4 separate regions of the Homo sapiens genome follow, and all the other regions are linked to region 3. The links are contacts of gene promoters, found by promoter capture Hi-C in blood cells and fetal thymus (Javierre and others, 2016). All regions are on one chromosome and are shown on one strand. Each heading gives the region's core, a stretch centred on a gene start or on the middle of the fragment in contact. The rest is flanking DNA. Distances are from core to core; before and after follow the strand shown. Region 1 has its middle 50 kb from the start of KANSL3. Region 2 has its middle 12 kb from the start of FAM178B. Region 3 holds the start of CNNM4 (cyclin and CBS domain divalent metal cation transport mediator 4). Region 4 has its middle 32 kb from the start of ARID5A.

Evidence for each region. Contacts are between HindIII fragments. The CHiCAGO score rates a contact against its expected background, and 5 or more counts as called.
Region 1: a fragment that was not itself captured here is called in contact with the fragment with the promoter of CNNM4 in region 3 in 16 of 17 cell types (megakaryocytes, M2 macrophages, M1 macrophages and 13 more); the score reaches 14.1 in megakaryocytes.
Region 2: a contact is called between a fragment that was not itself captured here and the fragment with the promoter of CNNM4 in region 3, in 2 of 17 cell types (total CD8 T cells and non-activated CD4 T cells). The highest score is 7.5, in total CD8 T cells.
Region 4: a contact is called between a fragment that was not itself captured here and the fragment with the promoter of CNNM4 in region 3, in 14 of 17 cell types (megakaryocytes, M0 macrophages, M2 macrophages and 11 more). The highest score is 12.7, in megakaryocytes.

Annotation. Positions count from the first base shown.
Region 1 is chr2:96,586,319-96,590,817 of GRCh38, reverse strand. It overlaps a transcript of KANSL3 not described here. Among named protein-coding and RNA genes, the nearest start is that of KANSL3, 50 kb to the left of the region's middle. The HindIII fragment of the contact is 8,293 bases long and covers 1-4,499 here.
Region 2 is chr2:96,996,298-97,000,759 of GRCh38, reverse strand. It overlaps the pseudogene LOC100420569. Among named protein-coding and RNA genes, the nearest start is that of FAM178B, 12 kb to the right of the region's middle. The HindIII fragment of the contact is 4,040 bases long and covers 1-3,865 here.
Region 3 is chr2:96,759,044-96,763,376 of GRCh38, reverse strand. It overlaps CNNM4 (cyclin and CBS domain divalent metal cation transport mediator 4), which reads right to left and starts at 2,475. Exons shown (of 7, transcript NM_020184.4): 1 at 976-2,475. The coding sequence starts at 2,377. RefSeq lists enhancers at 1,250-1,838, 1,718-1,967, 1,839-2,428, 2,988-3,037 and silencers at 1,931-2,114, 2,238-2,657. The HindIII fragment of the contact is 3,226 bases long and covers 205-3,430 here.
Region 4 is chr2:96,566,536-96,571,096 of GRCh38, reverse strand. No RefSeq gene overlaps it. Among named protein-coding and RNA genes, the nearest start is that of ARID5A, 32 kb to the right of the region's middle. The HindIII fragment of the contact is 3,848 bases long and covers 633-4,480 here.

The DNA.
Region 1 (4,499 bases), core at 265-2,764, 170 kb after region 3:
GAGACAGGGTTTCACCATGTTGGCTAGACTGGTCTCAAACTCCTGACCTCAGGCAATCCTCCTGCCTCGGCCTCCCAAAGTGCTGGGATTACAGGTGTGAGCCACTGTGCCCAGCCAATTGTATGCAGTTTTTAAAATGAGAACATGAGTTTTCATTTCTCTCTGGTAAATAACCAGGAGTGTGATTACTAGGTCATATGTTAAGTTTTTAATTTTTTAGGAAACTGCCAGCCCAGCCTGATGGCTCACACCTGTAATCCCAGCACTTTGGGAGGCCAAGATGGTAGGATTGCTTGAGCTCAGGAGTTTGAAACCCCCTAGGCAACATAGATAGACCCTGCCTCTACAAAAATACAAATTAGCCGGGTGTCATGCCGCGCACCTGTAGTCCCGGCTACTTGGGAAGCTGAAATGGAAGGATTGCTTGAGCCTGGGAGGTCAAGGCTGCAGTGAGCTGTGATCGTGCCATGGTACTCAATCTGAGCAACAGAGTGAGACCTTGTTTCTAAAGAAAAAAAAAAAGAAACTGCCACTGTTTTTCAGAGTAGTTGTACTATTTTACATTCCTATCAGCAGTGTATGCGAGATTCATTTTCTCGGCATTCCTGCCAGCATTCTATATTGTCTCTTTTATTATTTATTTATTTTTATTTTATTTTTGGGAGACTGAGTCTCATTCTGTCGCCCAGGCTGGAGTGCAATGCGCAATCTTGGCTCACTGCAACCTCTGCCTCCCAGGTTCAAGCAATTCTGCCTCAGCCTCCCTAGTAGCTGGGATTACAGGCATCCACCACCACACCTGTCTAATTTTTTTTTTTTTTTTGTATTTTTAGTAGAGATGGGGTTTCACCACGTCGGCCAGGCTGGTCTTGAACTCCTGACCTCAGGTAATCCACCCGCCTCAGCCTCCCAAAGTGCTGGGATTACAGGTGTGAGCCACTGCGCCTGGCCTCTTTTATTTTTTATTTTAGCCATTCTAATAGGTGTGTAGTGGTATCTCATTGTGGTCTTTTAAATTTGTTGAGGTTTATGGCCCAGGGGTGATCTATCTTGGTATGTATTCTGTGGGTGCTTAAATGTGTTCTGCTGTAGGGTGGAGTGTTCCATAAATGTCGATAAAATTGTTGGCTGATGGTGTTGTCAGGTTCTTGTATATCCTTGCTGATTTTCTGTCAAGTTGTTCTGTCAACTGTAAAGAGTGGTGTTGAAATTTCCAACTATAATTGTGGAATTGTCTATGTCTCCTTTCAGTTCTGTCAGTTTTTATTACACATATTTTTCAGTTCTGTTATTTGGTACATACACTTTTAGGATTTCTGTGTCTTTTTGGTGGATTGACCCTTTTATCATTATGTAATGTCCCTCTGTCCCTGTTGGTTTTCTTTGCCATGAAGTCTACTTTATTTGACACTATACCCATTCTACTTGTTTTTGATTTATGTTTGCATGACATATTTTTTATTCTTTTGTTTTCACCCTACCTATGTCATTATATTTCAAGTGAATTTCTTGTAGACTGCATGTAGCATATGATTTTTCTTCTATACCAATATCATTCTTTTAATTAGAGTTTTTAGACTGTTTTCTTACATGTAATTATAGGTAATGTTAGGCCTTAAGTTGGCCATTTTAGTTTTTGTTTTCCATTTTTTGTTTTCATTTTCCTGCCTGTAAGTGGGTTACTTGAACACTTTTTTTAGAATACAATTTTGGTTTATTCATAGCGGTTTGAGTTGTATCTCCTTGTATAGTTTTTTAGTGGTTGCTCCAAAATGTTACTTTATATATATGTAACTTACCACAGTCTCCTGGTATCCACATTACCCTCTTCCACCTCTAGTATAACTATCTATGTACTTTGAGAACCACGTTAGACAGTGTTGTAAGTTTTGCTTCAAATATAATTTAGAAAACTTAAGAAAAGGGCTGGGTGCGGTGGCTTAAGCCTGTAATCCCAGCACTTTGCAAGGCCAAGGCAGGCAGATCACTTGAGGTCAGGAGTTCAAGACTAGCTTGGCCAACATGGTGAAACCCTGTCTCTACTCAAAAAAATACAAAAATTAGCTGGGTGTGGTGGTGGGCGCCTGTAATCCCAGCTACTCCGGAGGCTGAGGCACGAGAATTGCTTGAACCCAGGAGGCGGAGGTTGCAGTGAGCCGAGATTGCACCACTGTACTTCAGCCTGGGTGACAGAGCGAGACTCCGTCTCCAAAAAAAAAAGAAAAGAAAAGGGAAGTCTATTGTAGTTACCCATATTTTTGCTCTTTCCATTGTTCTTTCTTCCTAATGTTCCAAGATTCCTTCTTTTACCATTTCCTTCTTATTTAGAGAACTCTCTTTAGCCAGTCTTCTTTGTTGTCAGCGGCAACACATTCTTTTAATTTTCCTTTGTCTGAGAATGTCTGAATTTTACCTTTCATTAATGAAGGATAGTTTTGCTAGATAAATTCTGTGTTGACCACAGAATTCTGTTCTTGAATTTGGAAAATTCTGCTTTCTTGTTTTCTGATGAGATATTCAGTGTCATTCAAATTGTTTCCCGTTTGTAGATAAGGTGTTGTTTCTTTGTGCTTTCAATATTTTTTCTTTTTCTTTAATTTTCAGGTTTGAATATGATGCATCTTGACATGGATTTTGGTTTTTTTTTTCTGTTTAGGATTTGCTCAGCTTCTTGAACCTGTATAGGCTTAAGCCTTTTTACCATATTTGGGGAATTTTCAGCCACTATTTTTTCAGTGCTTCCTTCTTTTTCCTCTGCATCATGCCCCCAGTGGCATGACTATTAGATCTTAGGTATAGCCCTACAGCACCCTCAGGCTCTGTTCTTTTGTTTTTTTTCTGTTGGTTTGTTCTCTTTTCAGATTGTGTCTGTTGTTCTGTCTTCAAGTTCACGGATTCTTTCTTGTGTCCCTTCTGTTCTGCTGTTGAGCCTATTCATTGATTTTTTTCATTTAGGTTATTCTAGTTTTCATTTCTCAAATTTGTTTTGTTCTTTATGTCTTCTGTATCCTTCCTGAGGATTTCTGTTTTCATTTGTCTTAGTGTGATATTGCTCATTGCAGCATTTTAAATGATGGCTGCTTGAAAATCCTTGTTAGACAGTTCTAATATCTGTGTCTTCTCAATTTTGGCATCTGTTGGTTGTCTTTTCTTATTTGAGTTGAGAATTTCTTGGTTCTTGATATATTCTTTGAGTGGTTTTGGATGAAACTGGGACATTTTGAGTGTTATCTATGAAACTCGATCTTCTTTAAATCTTCTGTTTTAGCAGGCCTCATCTGACACTGCTCTCATAGGGGAACTTTGTTACTGCCAGATGGGGTGGAAGTCTAGGATCCCCACTTGGCTTTCATTGACATTGGGGTGGAGTCTTTACTGCTGGGTGGAGGTGGGAGTTTTGGCTCCCCACCTGGCCTCTGCTGCTGCCAGCCAGCCTAGCTGGAAGGGCAGGAGTACCTTGTTGGTCTTTCTCACATGTTCTTGTTTCTAGGCAGAGGTAAATGCCCTGACTCTTCACTAGGTCTTTGCTGATGCCACCTAAGCTGGGACAGGGTTGTGTCTTATTGCCAGGTGGGTAGATTTCCAGGCTAACCACATGGTCTCTAATGGCACAAGAAGAGTGGGGGTTGGGAGCTTTATTACCACTCATTGGGATTGAAGTTTTAGTTTCCCACTTGGCCTACTTCAACACCACCCCCCAAAAACTAAACATTTGAGGAGACAGCCACCTCACAAAAGGCAACAGTGGACAACATATACTTTCTGAAGCAGAATTATTGGAAGAGATAAGTTAATATGTGACTAATATATGTAAGGAGTTATGGTTGGTCAGATACTGATATGAAACAACAGGAAACTGTTATTTAAAAACCCAGAAATACTAGTTATAGAAAATATAATAGCTAAAACAAGGTAATTATGGGATAAAAAGTAGAAGGGATATGGCTAAAGAATTAATTAACTGGAAGATTAGAATTAGGAATTCTCTCAGAAGGCATCAAAAGAGCCAAGAAGTATAGAGGACAGAAGTAGAAGCAGTAGAACACAATTAAGAGTCATGAAGGGAAAGCTGGCTACTCGGGAAGATTGCTTAAGGCCAGGCGTTGAAGCCTGTAGTGTGCGATGATCAGGCCTGTGGATAGCGACTGCAGTCCAGCCTGGGCAACAAGACCCTGTCTCTCAATTTTCTTTTTCAATTTTTAAAAGCCATGAAAGGAAAATGAAATAAAAAACAAGGAAGTAATTTTTTACATAATGGAGGATAAATTTCTAAGAATTAAGAGAAAATTGAAAGGCCTCAGTTTGAAAGCATTCACATGGAGTCTCAACTGGGAGCAATAAGGAAAACCCACATCTAGACACATTATAATTAAAGACAGAAAATCTTTCTTATTTTTAAATTTGATTCCAGTAGTTGTTGGGGAAGAGGTGGTTTTTGGTTACATGGGTAAGTTCTTTAGTGGTGATTTCTGAGATTTTGGTGCACCTGGCATCTGAGC
Region 2 (4,462 bases), core at 596-3,095, 240 kb before region 3:
ACCTAATGCATGAGGGACTTAAAACCTAGATGACGGGTTGATGGGTGCAGCAAACCTCCATGGCACATGCATACCTATGTAACAAACCTTCACATTCTGCACATGTATCCCAGAACTTAAAATAATAAAAAAAAGAAACGCCAAGCTAAATGTATAATGAACAGATTGAAGAAAAATAAAGAGCTACAGAAAATCCAGGACATCAAAGAAGTCAAGCAAAACATTTATCTTATTCAAGCTCCTCTTGCAGGCAAAGGAAAGCAGTTGGAAGAGAAAGTGGTACAGCAATTACAATAGGCTGTGGACATGGAAAATATCTCTTAAAAGTCTGTAGGCTGGGCATGGCGGCTCATGCCTATAATCTCAGCATTTTGGGAAGCTGAGGTGGGAGGATTGATTGAGGCTAGTAGTTTGAGACCCCCCTTCTCTACAAAACATTTTTTTAATTAGCTAGATGTGGTGGTGTACCCCTGTAGACCCAGCTACTTGGGGTGGGGGTGTGGGGATGTCAAGAGTGGGGAGGCTGAAGTGGGAGGGTTCCTTGAGCCCAGGAGGTCTAGGTTGCAGTGAACTGTGATTATGCCACTGCACTGCAGCCTGGGCAACAAAGTAAGACCCTGCCTCAAAAAAAAAAAAAAAAAGGCTCGTAATCATTTCTTTTTTTTTTTCTTTTTTTTTCTTTTTCTTTTTTTGAGACAGAGTCTCGCCCTGTTGCCCAGTCTGGAGGGCAGTGACACGATCTCAGCTTACTGCAACATCTGCCTCCCGGTTTCAAGTCATTCTCCTGCCTCAGCCTCCGGAGTAGCTGGGATTACAGGCACCTGCCACCATGCCCAGCTAATTTTTGTATTTTTAGTAGAGACGGGGTTTCACCATGTTGGCCAGGCTGGCCTCGAACTCCTGACCTCAGGTGATCCACCTGCCTTGGCCTCCCAAAGTGCTGGGATTACAGGTGTGAGCCACCGCACCCAGCTTTCATTGTAACTATTTCTATTTATTTATTTATTTATTTATTGAGACAAAGTTTCGCTCTTATTGCCCAGGCTGGAGTGCAATGGGGTGATATCATCTCACTGCAACCTCCACCTCCTGGGTTCAAGCGATTCTCCTGCCTCAGCCTCCCCAGTAGCTGGAAGTGCAGGCATGCGCCCCCACGCCCAGCTAATTTTTTGTATTTTTAGTAGAGATGGGGTTTCTTCATGGTGGTCAGGCTGGTCTCAAACTCCCGAAGTCAGGTGATCCACCCGCCTCAGCCTCCCAAAGTGCTAGGATTACAGGGATGAGCCATTGCGTCTGGCCCATTGGAACTTTTCCTTTCTTTCCTTTCTTTCCTCTTTTTCCTCTCTTTCTCTCTTTCTTTCTTTCTGACGGAGTCTCCCTCTGTCTCCCAGGCTGGAGTGCGGTGGCGCCATCGGCTCACTGCAAGCTCCGCCTCCCGAGTTCACGCCGTTCTCCTGCCTCAGCCTCCTGAGTAGCTGGCACTATAGGCGCCCGCCACCACGCCCGGCTAATTTTTGTGTGTGTGTGTATTTTTTAGTAGAGACGGGGTTTCACCGTGTTAGCCAGGATGGTCTCAATCTCCTGACCTCGTGATCCACCCGCCTCGGCCTCCCAAAGTGCTGGGATTACAGGCGTGAGCCACCGTGCCCGGCCAGAGTTTCGCTCTTGTTGCCAGGCTGGAGTGCAATGGCGCGATCTCGGCTCACTGCAACCTCCACTTCCCAGGTTCAAGTGATTCTCCTGCCTCAGCCTCCCGAGTAGCTGGGATTACAAGCAGGCGCCACCACGCCCAGCTAATTTTTGTATTTTTAGTTACTAAAAATACAAAGGATGAAGAGCAGAAGGGAAATCCCCAAATTCAAGCAAGCACAGAAATCCATGATTGGAGACGGGGTTTCGCCATGTTGGCCAGGATGGTCTCAATCTCTTGACCTCGTGATCCGCCCGCCTCTGCCTCCCAAAGTGCTGGGATTACAGGCGTGAGCCACCGTGCCCAGCCCATTGTAACCATTTCTATATGTACGTTTAAAAATGTCCTTTGGAGACTTAGAACTTCCAAATTATTTATTTTTTTACATAAGGGCACTTAAATGAAAGGTGATTAAAAAGACATCTCTCCGGCCGGGTGCGGTGGCTCGGGCCTGTAATCCCAGCACTTTGGGAGACCGAGGTGGGCAGATCACGAGGTCAGGAGATCCAGACCATCCTGGCTAACACAGTGAAACCAGGTCTCTACTAGAAATACAAAAAAATTAGCCAGGCGTGGTGGTGGGCGCCTGTAGTCACAGCTGCTCAGGAGGCTGAGGTAGGAGAATGGCGTGAACCCAGGAGGCGGAGCTTGCAGTGAGCCGAGATCTCCCCACTGCACTCCAGCCTGGGCGACAGAGGGAGACTCTGTCTCAAAAAAAAAGTCTCTCCTACATTGCTGTCTGCAAAACATCAGATGTTACGGATGTTAGACTGCATCTCAATGGTAAATCTTCACTGACAGGTTTACTTACATCAATCATGAAAATTCTGTTTGTAGGCTGGGTACGGTGGCTCATGCCTGTAATCCCAACACTTTGGGAGGCCGAGGCAGGCTGATCATGAGGTCAGGAATTTGAGAACAGCCTGGCCAACATGGCAAAACCGCATCACTACTAAAATCACAAACATTAGCTGGGCATGGTGGTGAGCACTTGTAATCCCAGCTACTAGGGAAGCTGAGTCAGGAGAATTCCTTGAACCTGGGAGGTGGAGGTTGCAGTGAGTGGAGATGGCGCCACTGCACTCCAGCCTGGTCAACAGAGTGAGACTGTCTCAAAAAAAAAAAAAGAGAGAGAAAATTCTGTCAATACAGAAGTGAATTGTGGACGTAAAATGGTCATGCCATTTGGTTAATGGCACTAGGCAGCATTCATACAACAACTAATGACAAAAATTCACAGCTAGTGATATATAAAATAAAGTATTTTTGCAGTAAACAAACAAAATTGGCATGGCTTCCAGCTGAGCTCACCTTCACCCCACTCACCTTGTAAATGGGGTCATCCTCTGAGTTAACACAGTGGAATCCCCCTCCCGTCTCTCTCTCATGTCTGTCGGTTCTTCCCCAGCAATAGTCCCTGGAGTGGCCCCTATTAAGGGCCTTGACATCCACTCCCACACTCAATTTTACAACCACCTCCTTTGGGACTCCCTGTTTCGCACCCCTCCTGTCTCTGGCCTCTGTTCCTTGAGTCCTGAACCTGAACTGGATTCTGTCCTGCCCTGTAAGGTCCTCCTCAGGCTGGCTGACACCTAGGAGTCCTGCACTTGCCCACTGATAAGCGACATCTCAGGCCTCAAGCATTCATGCCTTTGCACATTTTATTCCCTTTTCCTTGAATGCTTTTTCTCCTCTTGGAGATAAATAGTAAATTCCAACTCAAATTTCAAGACTTTGGGCAAATGTTACCTTGCCTGAGGTCATCGGACCCTTCCAGGCAGGGTCCCCATGTCACTTCTGTGTGCTCCTGCAGCCTCCGGGCACACCTCCATTGTGGGGTTGAGTACATGGCAAGGTTATTATCTTTTTGCACATGTTTTGAGTCTAGGCAGTGTGGCAGGTGCTCAGTCTTTGTTGAATGACTGCATAATGAAGGGTGCATTATACAGGACAATTGTTTCTCCATCTTTTGATATACCTGGTTATTCAAACCTACATCCATTTTGTTACATAATGTCCTTGTATAAAATCACACATGAGAAATTACTTTTGGAATTGAAAATAAGGAAAAACACGTTATTTCCTTCTATTGTAGAAACTCTATGTTATAAAGAGAAGCATGGAGTCCTTTGTGTTCCCCACCCGCTTCTCTTCTTCTCTTGCTTCCAAGAAGCTTAGAGCCAGGTTTAATGTTCATTCACAATAATCACATTAGCCTTCCTGAACAGAATTTGGCTTTTCCTCCTCTTTCTGGTTCTGATTTTCTATCTTTTCTCTAGTAACCTCTTTGAAATCAGGCAGTGGAATATGGAGGGGAAGGAATGGGTTCTGTAATCAGAGAAACATGCATTCAAATGGCCCTGCACCTCGTGGCTGTGCAACTTGAGCAATTTACTTAACCTCTCTGAACCCCCAATTTCCCTTTTATAGGGTGATTATAGGGAATACGTTAAAATGTATGTACTGTATATAGCACATAGTAGAGGATCAAAACATGATGATTACACAAAGTGGGGCTATAAGTGAAAAAAAAAATTGAAAGTGTCACTCCAGGCTGGCCTCTGGAAGAATAAGCAGCCATTCACATGGGATGACTTGGGAAGGAGCAAGGCCAACTTGCAGCCCCTCTCCCCCAAGTCGGTCCCATCACTAGGATCACTATCCAAGGGACCGTTTGAAAGATGCCTTCTTAACTGGGCTGAGAGATCAGCTCACCAGGAGTGGGCACATATAGCACGTGGTTCCGCAGAGCAGGGCAGAGGGAAGAGAGAT
Region 3 (4,333 bases), core at 1,226-3,725:
ACTTTGAGGGTTTCTGAATGGCAGAGATGGGAGGAAAATTTTGCTGGAAGAAAAGGAGTGTGTGCCTTGAGCTTTGAGGCTGATGAGTAAACCCTCCAAATGCCTCTCTAACTACCTGCGAAATGGCCAAGAACCCAGGTGAGAAAAAAACACAAGGCAGTGCAAGGCAGCTGAAGATTTCCAGCAGACCACTGGAGGGAAGCTTACGCTGGCGCCACAATTACCAAAACTTAATCTGCTTGCTTCTGCTGAATAGTCGAAAGCGCTACTTGGCATTGTTCTGAGAAGCGAGCCAATTAGAGACCTCCCAATTCTGCTTCTGTGGGCTAGCACCTCCAGTAACATGACTCCCCTGCTCAAAAACCTGTAGCTCCCAAGCTGGGAGCAAACTTAGCGTCCACCACCGGGCCCCAAACTACTCCAGCCATTGACCACTAAGCATCAGAGCCACTATACCCACCAAACAGGACCACCTGCTGGGCCACAAGCACACTTTTGCTTCTCCACTCCGGTTCTCTGCTTGCGGGGTTCCCTCTGCCTCAAGCAGCAAGCCTCTCTACCTTTTAAGATTCTCCTCAAATGCTCCTTCCCCTGTGGATTCCCCAATTTCCCAGCCCCTTCCTGACTCCACCCCATACTCTAAATCTCCATCGCCCTGGCCTCTTTTCAGGCATCTGTCTTACTCTGTCTTGCTTCAATAGCTCCCTGAGGTCTTGCTCCAGCCCTCCAAGGGAGCGAGTATGTCTTATTCAGCTTTGATTCATCAGGAGCACACAGCACACTACCTGGCAGACGGCAGACACTTGAGAATGGGTCTACCGCTCCAAAATCGTTCACCTCAGAAGCATAGGAAGCGATAGGCAAAGGGACACAGAGTCACACAAACAGAACACTAAAGCCAGCAGACACAAAACACGCCAGGGGAAAAGAGGCGTCAAGAGGAAATTGAACCAGGGGAACTACATCTGGCCTTACCCTTCTTGAACTCCTCCAGCATGGCATCCAACTTGGTGTCATGGAAGACAAAGTGCACCGGGTGGTTATAGAAGCGAGTGATAGTCTTGAGGGGGGTGCAGTCATCGGGGTCCACAAAGGCCAAGTCTTTGACGTAGAGAATATCTACAATATTGGACTGCTCGTCTTCGAACACCGGGATGCGAGTATAGCCGCTTTCCATTATCTCCGACATGGTGTTGAAGTCCAGGATGGCATCGCTGCGGATCATGAAGCAGTCCTGGAGCTGGGTCATGATATCCTCTACAGTTTTGGTCCGTAGTTCCAGGGCACCCTGGATCATATTGAGCTCCTCTTTCACGAGGTCATTATAGGGCTCCGTCACCTTCAACATCTCCATCAGCTTCTCCCGGTTGTAAACAGTGCGAATCTCCTGGCCCAGAAAAAAGTCCAGGAGCTTGCTAATGGGAAAACTGAGGGGGAAGGTGAGTAGCATAAAGAATTTGGTGAGAAGGATGGTGTTGGCACCCACAGCCAGCCCATGTCGGGAGCACAGGGCCTGAGGTAGGATCTCCCCAAAGATGACAATGCCAATGGTGGAGGAGGCCACCGCCATGAGGCCGGACCCGATGAGGTTGTCTAGAAGGATTGTGAGGGAGGTGTTGACCAGCACGTTCCCTAGGAGCAACGAGCAGAGAAGGTAGTTGCCCTTGCGCCGGATGGGCTCAATCTTGCGGGCATAGCGCCTCTCCTTCTCGGTGCCACAGTTCTGCACGATGCGCAGCTCCATGGGGTCCAGGGCCATAAGCCCGAGGTTGAGGCCAGAAAATATGCCCGACAGCACCAGCAGCACCGTAATTAGGAGAATGTGCAGCCAGAGAGGCAGGAACCTCCCAGGCTCCTCCACCATGAAGAGCAGTGAGTCCTTGTCCGTCCACTTCAGCCAGGGCCCGTCGGGCTGGGCCCGGGTGCACAGTGCATACAGCTTCATGCTCTCGCTCCTCCGGAGGAACTTGGTGAGCACCACCAGCACGCCGGACGTGTTCCCGCGGCTCACGTTGACCAGCTGCTGGACGACCAGGTCCTTGGTGAGCTCGAGGCAGCTGGTGGACTTGTGGAGGGTCTCGGCATCGTCCACCTCGGTGAAGGAGATCAGGTTGCTGGAGATGTTGCCCAGGCTGTAGCCGTACAGCCTCAGGTTCACGGTGCTGCCCTCGGACACGAAGATGATGCCATCCGGGTTCGTCCCACACGACTTGTTGCAGCTCGCCAGCCTCATGCCCACGATCGTGCCCTGCTGGGGGCTGCCCTGGCCCCGGGCCCCCAGCGCCCACAGCAGCACCAGCAGCACCGGCGCCGCCAGGAGGAGGCGCCCGCGGGCCGGTCCGCCGACCGGGCGCCCGCCCCCGCCCACCGGCGCCATGTTGCTCTGGCTCTGCCGCCGCCGCCGCTCCCCGCGCCACGCCGCGCGGCCCCGGTCCGCACCGCAGCTCCGGCCGCTCCGCTGCCGCCGAGCCAACTGCCCGGGCCGCGAGCCTGACGTCAGGTCAGCGCCCCGCCCGCCCCGCCCCGCCTGCCCACGCCCCTCATTTGCATTGGAGGCCCCGCCCCCGGGGCTCGCTGCTTGAGCGCCCGCCCTTAAGGGGGTACAGTCGCTTAAGGTGGAGCAGCGCCGCCGCGCGAGAGCCGCCAGCGGGTACCCGCCCAGTGCTCCGCCTCCGCGCCCTTCCCCGCCTTTCTCTGCCAGTGGGGCCAGCTCTCCTTCTCCGGGACCTGGTCTCCTAGCTACGCCGTTCCTGTTCCTCGGCCTCGCACGGCCGCACGTGGGAGGCTCCTCTCCCGTCCCTCACCTGCAGCTAGGGGTGGCCCGCTCTGCAGGCAGGGCGAGAAAAGTGCTTTTCCTGATGTAGAAAAAGAAAAAGGAAACCTGAGGGCTTAGGCTGGCATTGCAGCCTGCCCCTTGGAGACTTTTCTGGCCTCCTCACTGCTGAGATTTTTGCCGACCTTGTCCTAAGGCCAGAAGTAGGTTACCCCAGCCCCAGCCCCAGCCCGACGATGCTTCCATCAACCAGTGGCTGCCTGATGTGGAAGGCAAATCTGGGGAACTAAGGTTATAGAAGGGGCAGGCTCTGGCCTAGACTTCTCTCCTGTCTCTTCCATTTAGGCATAGATATTTATTGAACACCTACTTTGTACCAGGCACTTGTTCTAGGCTCTGACAATAGAGCAGTGAACAAGCCAAAGTCGCTGCCCATTGGGGTTTACAGTCTAGAACAGAAAACAGGAGATAAACAAGTAAACACATATATTCATTAAATCCCCCCAACAACCCTCAGAGTTAGTAGAATTATTTCCATTTAGAGATGCAGAAATTGAGCCGAGACAAAAATCCTGGTGCCTCCATACTGTCATCTCCCAGCCCATTTCTCCATCTGTAAATGGGGGTAAGAATGACAGAGCATTACTTCGCTAAGCTTGCGGGATTGTGGACCTAGACATTGAACATGACAGGACAGCTCTTTAGAATATTCTTTGGCTAGGTAGTAGTTGTTGCTACCTGCCTTCCAGGACCAAACTCCTAACCCCAAATTGTGGTGATTGATCAGCTGGGCAGCTGCTTGTGGACATGAGCAGGCAGGCGCGGCAGTGGGCCTATCCCTGAAATGACTGCTTCCTGAATGGCCCTAGCCCTGTGTCAGTAGGGTGTATAAGGAAGACCACAGCTGCCCGCCCTGTGAGGGGGAAGAAGACAGACAGATAAACATCCTTACAATAATTGCACAGGTGCACAGAGAAGATCAGGTACTGGGTTGACCACCAGGTCTCACAGCAAATCTTTTGCCAGTACTGAAGACACAGAACCCACTTTACTCCCTTCCCGCACTGACACTTGTATTTATTTTCATTTTGGTGTAATGTTTGCTAATAAAAGCAGCAATCAGTACCAAACGGAAGGAGCCTAAACAGAAAGGATCACACAATGTTGTGGGAGGAGGTGTGGTAGCAGAGAGGCCCTGACTCAAGAAAGCCCTGTTAGCTGGGATTGAGGGTTCTGTAAACTAGGCCAGCCTGGAGAAGTATGTTGCTAGTAGGGGCCCCACTCATAGCGGATACTTTGCAGTGAGTGCCCAGCAGGTCAGTTTTTTCGAGGAATAGGAGCCTTGGAATGGGCACTGGCTGAGACAGAACAAAAGCAGAACCTTGACTGCCTGTTCCTTCCCTGTCTCCACCAACCAGGAAGAGCTACCTGAATTGCCTCAAAGCAAACCCAGCTCTCCTCATCTCCTAGTGAGCTGTAACACCAGCGCCCTGCTCCACCCCTACCCCCACCTCCCATACTTAGAAACTTTCCCATTCTATTATCAATCAATTGGCTATT
Region 4 (4,561 bases), core at 1,307-3,806, 190 kb after region 3:
ATCTTGATAAAAAATAATCTCAAAGAACTGTTATTCTTGGCGCGGAGGCTCACTTCTGTAATCCCAGCACTCTGGGAGGCTGAGGCAAGCGGATCACTTTAGGTCAGGAGTTCGAGACCAGCCTGGCCAACATGGTGAAACCTCATGTCTACTAAAAATACAATACAAAAAAAAAAAAAAATTAGCTGGGCGTGGTGGCATGTGCCTGTAGTCCCAGCTACTCAGGAGGCTGAGGCACGAGAATCGTTTGAACCCAGGAGCTAGAGGTTGCAGTGAGCCAAGATCATGCCACTGCACTCCAGCCTGGGCAACAGAGTGAGACTGTCTCAAAAAAACAAACAAAGAAACAAACAAAAAACTATTATTCTTGATCAACACTTGATCACAAAATAAGGCTGGTCTCATTAGACTTGTCTGATTACTCACATAGGTAGAGTAAGAATGGTAATTTGCCACACAGGTCTTCTTAAGTTTACTTTGTTGAAAGTTTTCATCAGGACTTTCAGACTGAGCTTTTAAAATTCTCTTGAGGCTAGGAAGCCAAGCTAAGAACTTGCCATCATACTTTAAATGCAGTACCTATAAATTTGGACAAATTCCTCTTTTCTTGAGTCTCCAGAATATCCTAAGCTTCCTGGTACTGTCAGGAAGTGACCTTTCTTACTCACCTGTAAGGCTGAAACCATGTACTCCAGTGCCAGTTTTCCCAAGAGCATTTTGTAAACATTGGCTCCAAAAAGTCAACCTTAGTTCTTTAAAGTATCTGGTCATAGCTGATTAAATGAGCATCATTCTCAAACATGACATTCGGGGAGGCACCAGAGTAAAAGAAAAAAACTATCTGTAGATGACAAAAGATTTAAAGGCCTTTGTTGCATAACCAATGTTTCTAATTCTGTCCCGTAAACAAGGAGGACAGATTCTTATTGAACCTGTGCAAATAATTATATTGCAATGAAATTAAGAATACTCCAAATTCTGGAAGGATCAGGCAGTAAGAAAAATACACCATTTGCAAATTGATATGGTTTGGCTCTGTGTCCCCACCTAAATTTCATGTCAAATTGTAATTCCCACATGTCAGCAGAGGGGCCTGATGGGATATGATTGGATCATGAGGGCAGATTTCCCCCTTGCTGTTCTCATGATAGTGAGTGAGTTCTCACAAGGTGTGTTTGTTTGAGAATGTGTGGCACTTCCCCCATCACTCTCTCTCTCTCCTGCCGCCATGGTAAGACATGCTTGCTTCCTCTTGGCCTTCCACCATGATTGTAAGTTTCCTGAGGCCTCCTAGCCATGCGTCCTGTACAGTCTGCCAAACTATGAGTCAATTAAACCTCTTTTCTTCATAAATTACCCAGTCTCAGATAGTTCTTTATAGCAGTGTAAGAATGGACCAATACACAAATGTTCATTTTAAAGAACATAGTCTACTAAATTGTTATGAGTTATAGATAGCTTAAGATAAAGGAGCTCTTTATGTATTCAGAAAATAGAACATTAAAACAACAATAGTCCAAGCAAAACCCACAACCATCCCCCATCAGTTCATTCAGTCCTATGTCATTAATTCCTGTTCTGCTCAATCTTAGGTTAGTAGTCTCATGAATCCATCTGTTTCTCAACTAGAGTTTTAGAAATCCTGACTCAGTTCAATTATGTGGTCTCAAAGTTGCTTAAGTAGTGCCATCAGAAGTCTATACCCAAAGGTACCTGGCATAGTCCTTTTCCACGGAGCTCTGAGACAGTCCTTCTTTATTGAAGTGATTTCAAGTCCTTTCAGAGAAGCATCAGAGTAAAACAGAACACTATTGGTAGATAACAGAAGACTTAAAATGACTATGGTTAACATACTGCTTATAATTATCAAAAGTGAAAGGCATGATGAGAGTTCATTACAAAGATAATGCAACTCAAGAATATTTGCAGTTTTTGGGGCATGCAAAACAAGATGAAGTCAGTCAAAATATTTTTAGGCAAAATATCTATGAATATAATGATTGACCCTATTTTCAAAGAAAAGTAGATGTTATATCTAATTTATAAAAATTAGTGAACCTTTTCAGGGAAAAAAATCTTAAGATATAAAACATAACAAACATGGACATAATATATCATGAATATACCAAGTATATAACAAATGACAGTGTTAAGTTTTGTGAGAGCCCTGTGTTTCTGGAAAACGGCAAAGGCTGAGAAATCCCCGCACTCTGCCCTCCAGGAAACAGCTCACTGTGAAGACCACCCTTCCCTATATGACTTGGATAAGACTCCCAAATGCTCCTTGTTTACCCTTGACCAAGTCAGACAGACTCTCCAAATTCCCATTCTTTGCCTCATAAATGATTAGCTGAACTCTTTTGTCCCCACTGGACAAAATGGGAACAAAATCAAAATCTTTGGTTCATATTCTCTGCTTCCCCCAAGGCTCCTAAGTATTGGCCCACCCTCAACCTGAGCCAGCAGGCAGTCCTGCTACTTCTGGAAACAGACTGGGCTAGGTGCAGTGGCTCACACCTGTGATCCCCTTAGTTTGGGAAGCCGAGCCTGGAGGATTTCTTGAGCCCAGGAATTCAAGACCAGCCTGGGCAACAAAGTGAGACTCCATCTCTACAAAAAATTTAAAAATTAGCCAGATGTAGTAGTGCATGCCTGTAGACCCAACTAGTCAGGAGGCTGAGGTAGGAGAATCACTTGAGCCCAGGAGGTTGAGGCTGCAGTGAGCCATATTCATGCCACTGCACTCCAGCCTTGCTGACAGAGTGAGACTCACACACAAAAAAAAAAAAAAAAAAAAAAGCGGGGGCGGAGTGGGAGGAAAATAGACTGGCTTTGGGATAAGACATTCTTGGGTCTGCTATCCTGTAATGCCACCCTCCCATTCCACTTTCCCATACCTGGATCTTTCTAGCCTTATTTACTCCTCTCTACAAAATAAAAGCACTTTGCCCACCCTCTCAGATACTTGCAGATCTTATGGTCAGAGCAACCTCCCCCGGCAATAGTTCCTTACCACACCCCCTTGCAATAACTGCTCCAATAAAGTCTCCTTACGTAGTCTGGGTTTGTTTTTATTTGACTTGAGGAAAGAGATTCAGCAAATCTGGATTAGGTCCTAGACACCTGTATATTAATAAAACTCCATAGTTAAGTGATGTGAATCCTCAATTAAAAACCCTGGCCCAGAAGATAGTAGATTCACATTAGAGAATTAAAGCTGCAACCAAGTTAACATTTTAAAAACTAACAAATTATAACTGATAGCACTATACTGTTTTTGTCTAATATTAGGCAAAGGAGCACCAGGAATCATAAACATATCATGGACAGCAAAGACATTGATGATTGTCTAGAAATTTCCCATAAAGCATACAATTTCTGAAAATTTTATATTAATAATAGCCCAGGCCAGCACGCGGTGGCTCACGCCTGTAATCCTAGCATTTTGGGAGGCCAAGGTCAGAAGTTTGAGACCAGCCTGATCAACATGGTGAAACCCCATCTCTACTAAAAATACAAAAATTAGCCAAGCATGGTGGCGCATGCCTGTAATTCCAGCTACTCAGGAGGCTGAGGCAGGACAATCGCTTGAACCCAGGAAGTGGAGCTTGCAGTGAGACGAGATCGCACCACTGCACTCCAGCCTGGGCGACAGAGTGAGACTCCGACTCAAAAAAAAAAAAAAAAAAAAAGGCCAGGTGCAGTGGCTCACACCTGTAATCCCAGCACTTTGGGAAGCCGAGGTGGGTGGATTACAAGGTCAGGTGTTCAAGACCAGTCTGGCCAATATGGTGAAATCCTGTCTCTACAAAAAATACAAATATTAGCCAGGCATGGTGCTGCATGCCTGTAGTCCCAGCTACTCGGGAGGTTGAGGCAGGAGAATTGCTTGAACCTGGGAGGCATAGGTTGCAGTGAGGTGAGATCGCACCACTGCACTCTAGCCTGGGCCACAGAGCGAGACTCTGTCTTAAAAAAAAAAAAAAAAAGCATCTCTTCTGATTTGACAAAGTGATCCAGGGCAAGCGAGCCCCCTCCCACCCCCACCAAATTGGGGCTTAGCCCAGGAGGGTTGTTGGCTTTGTCTAGGAAAGAATTCAAGGGTGAGCCGGTGGGGTGAGACAGCAACTTTTATAGAGGCGGCAGTGCACAGCGGCAGCAGAAGTGCTGCACCTTAGAAAGCAGGGCTACCCCATAGGCAGTGTGCACAGAGTAGCAGCTTAGAGGCAGTTCTACAGTCGTATTTATACCCACTTTTAATTATATGCAAATTAAGGGGTGGGTTATGCAGACATTTCTAGAAAAGAGTGGTAACTTCTGGGTCGTTGGGTGGTTGCCACAGAAAGGGGCAGTAACCTTTGGGTGTGCCAGTCTTATGGAAAGCTGCTTCTGCGCTGGCCCTGTTTTAGCTAGTCTTCAATCTCGTTCTTGTCCAAGTCTCCACCCCCAGAGTCTAATCCTGCCTCCTACCTCAAAAGCTTCCCATGCAATTTATTAATAACATATCTGATAAGCTGAATTACTTCTAGTACCTCTCCTTTTACAAGGTGAAAGAACAAAT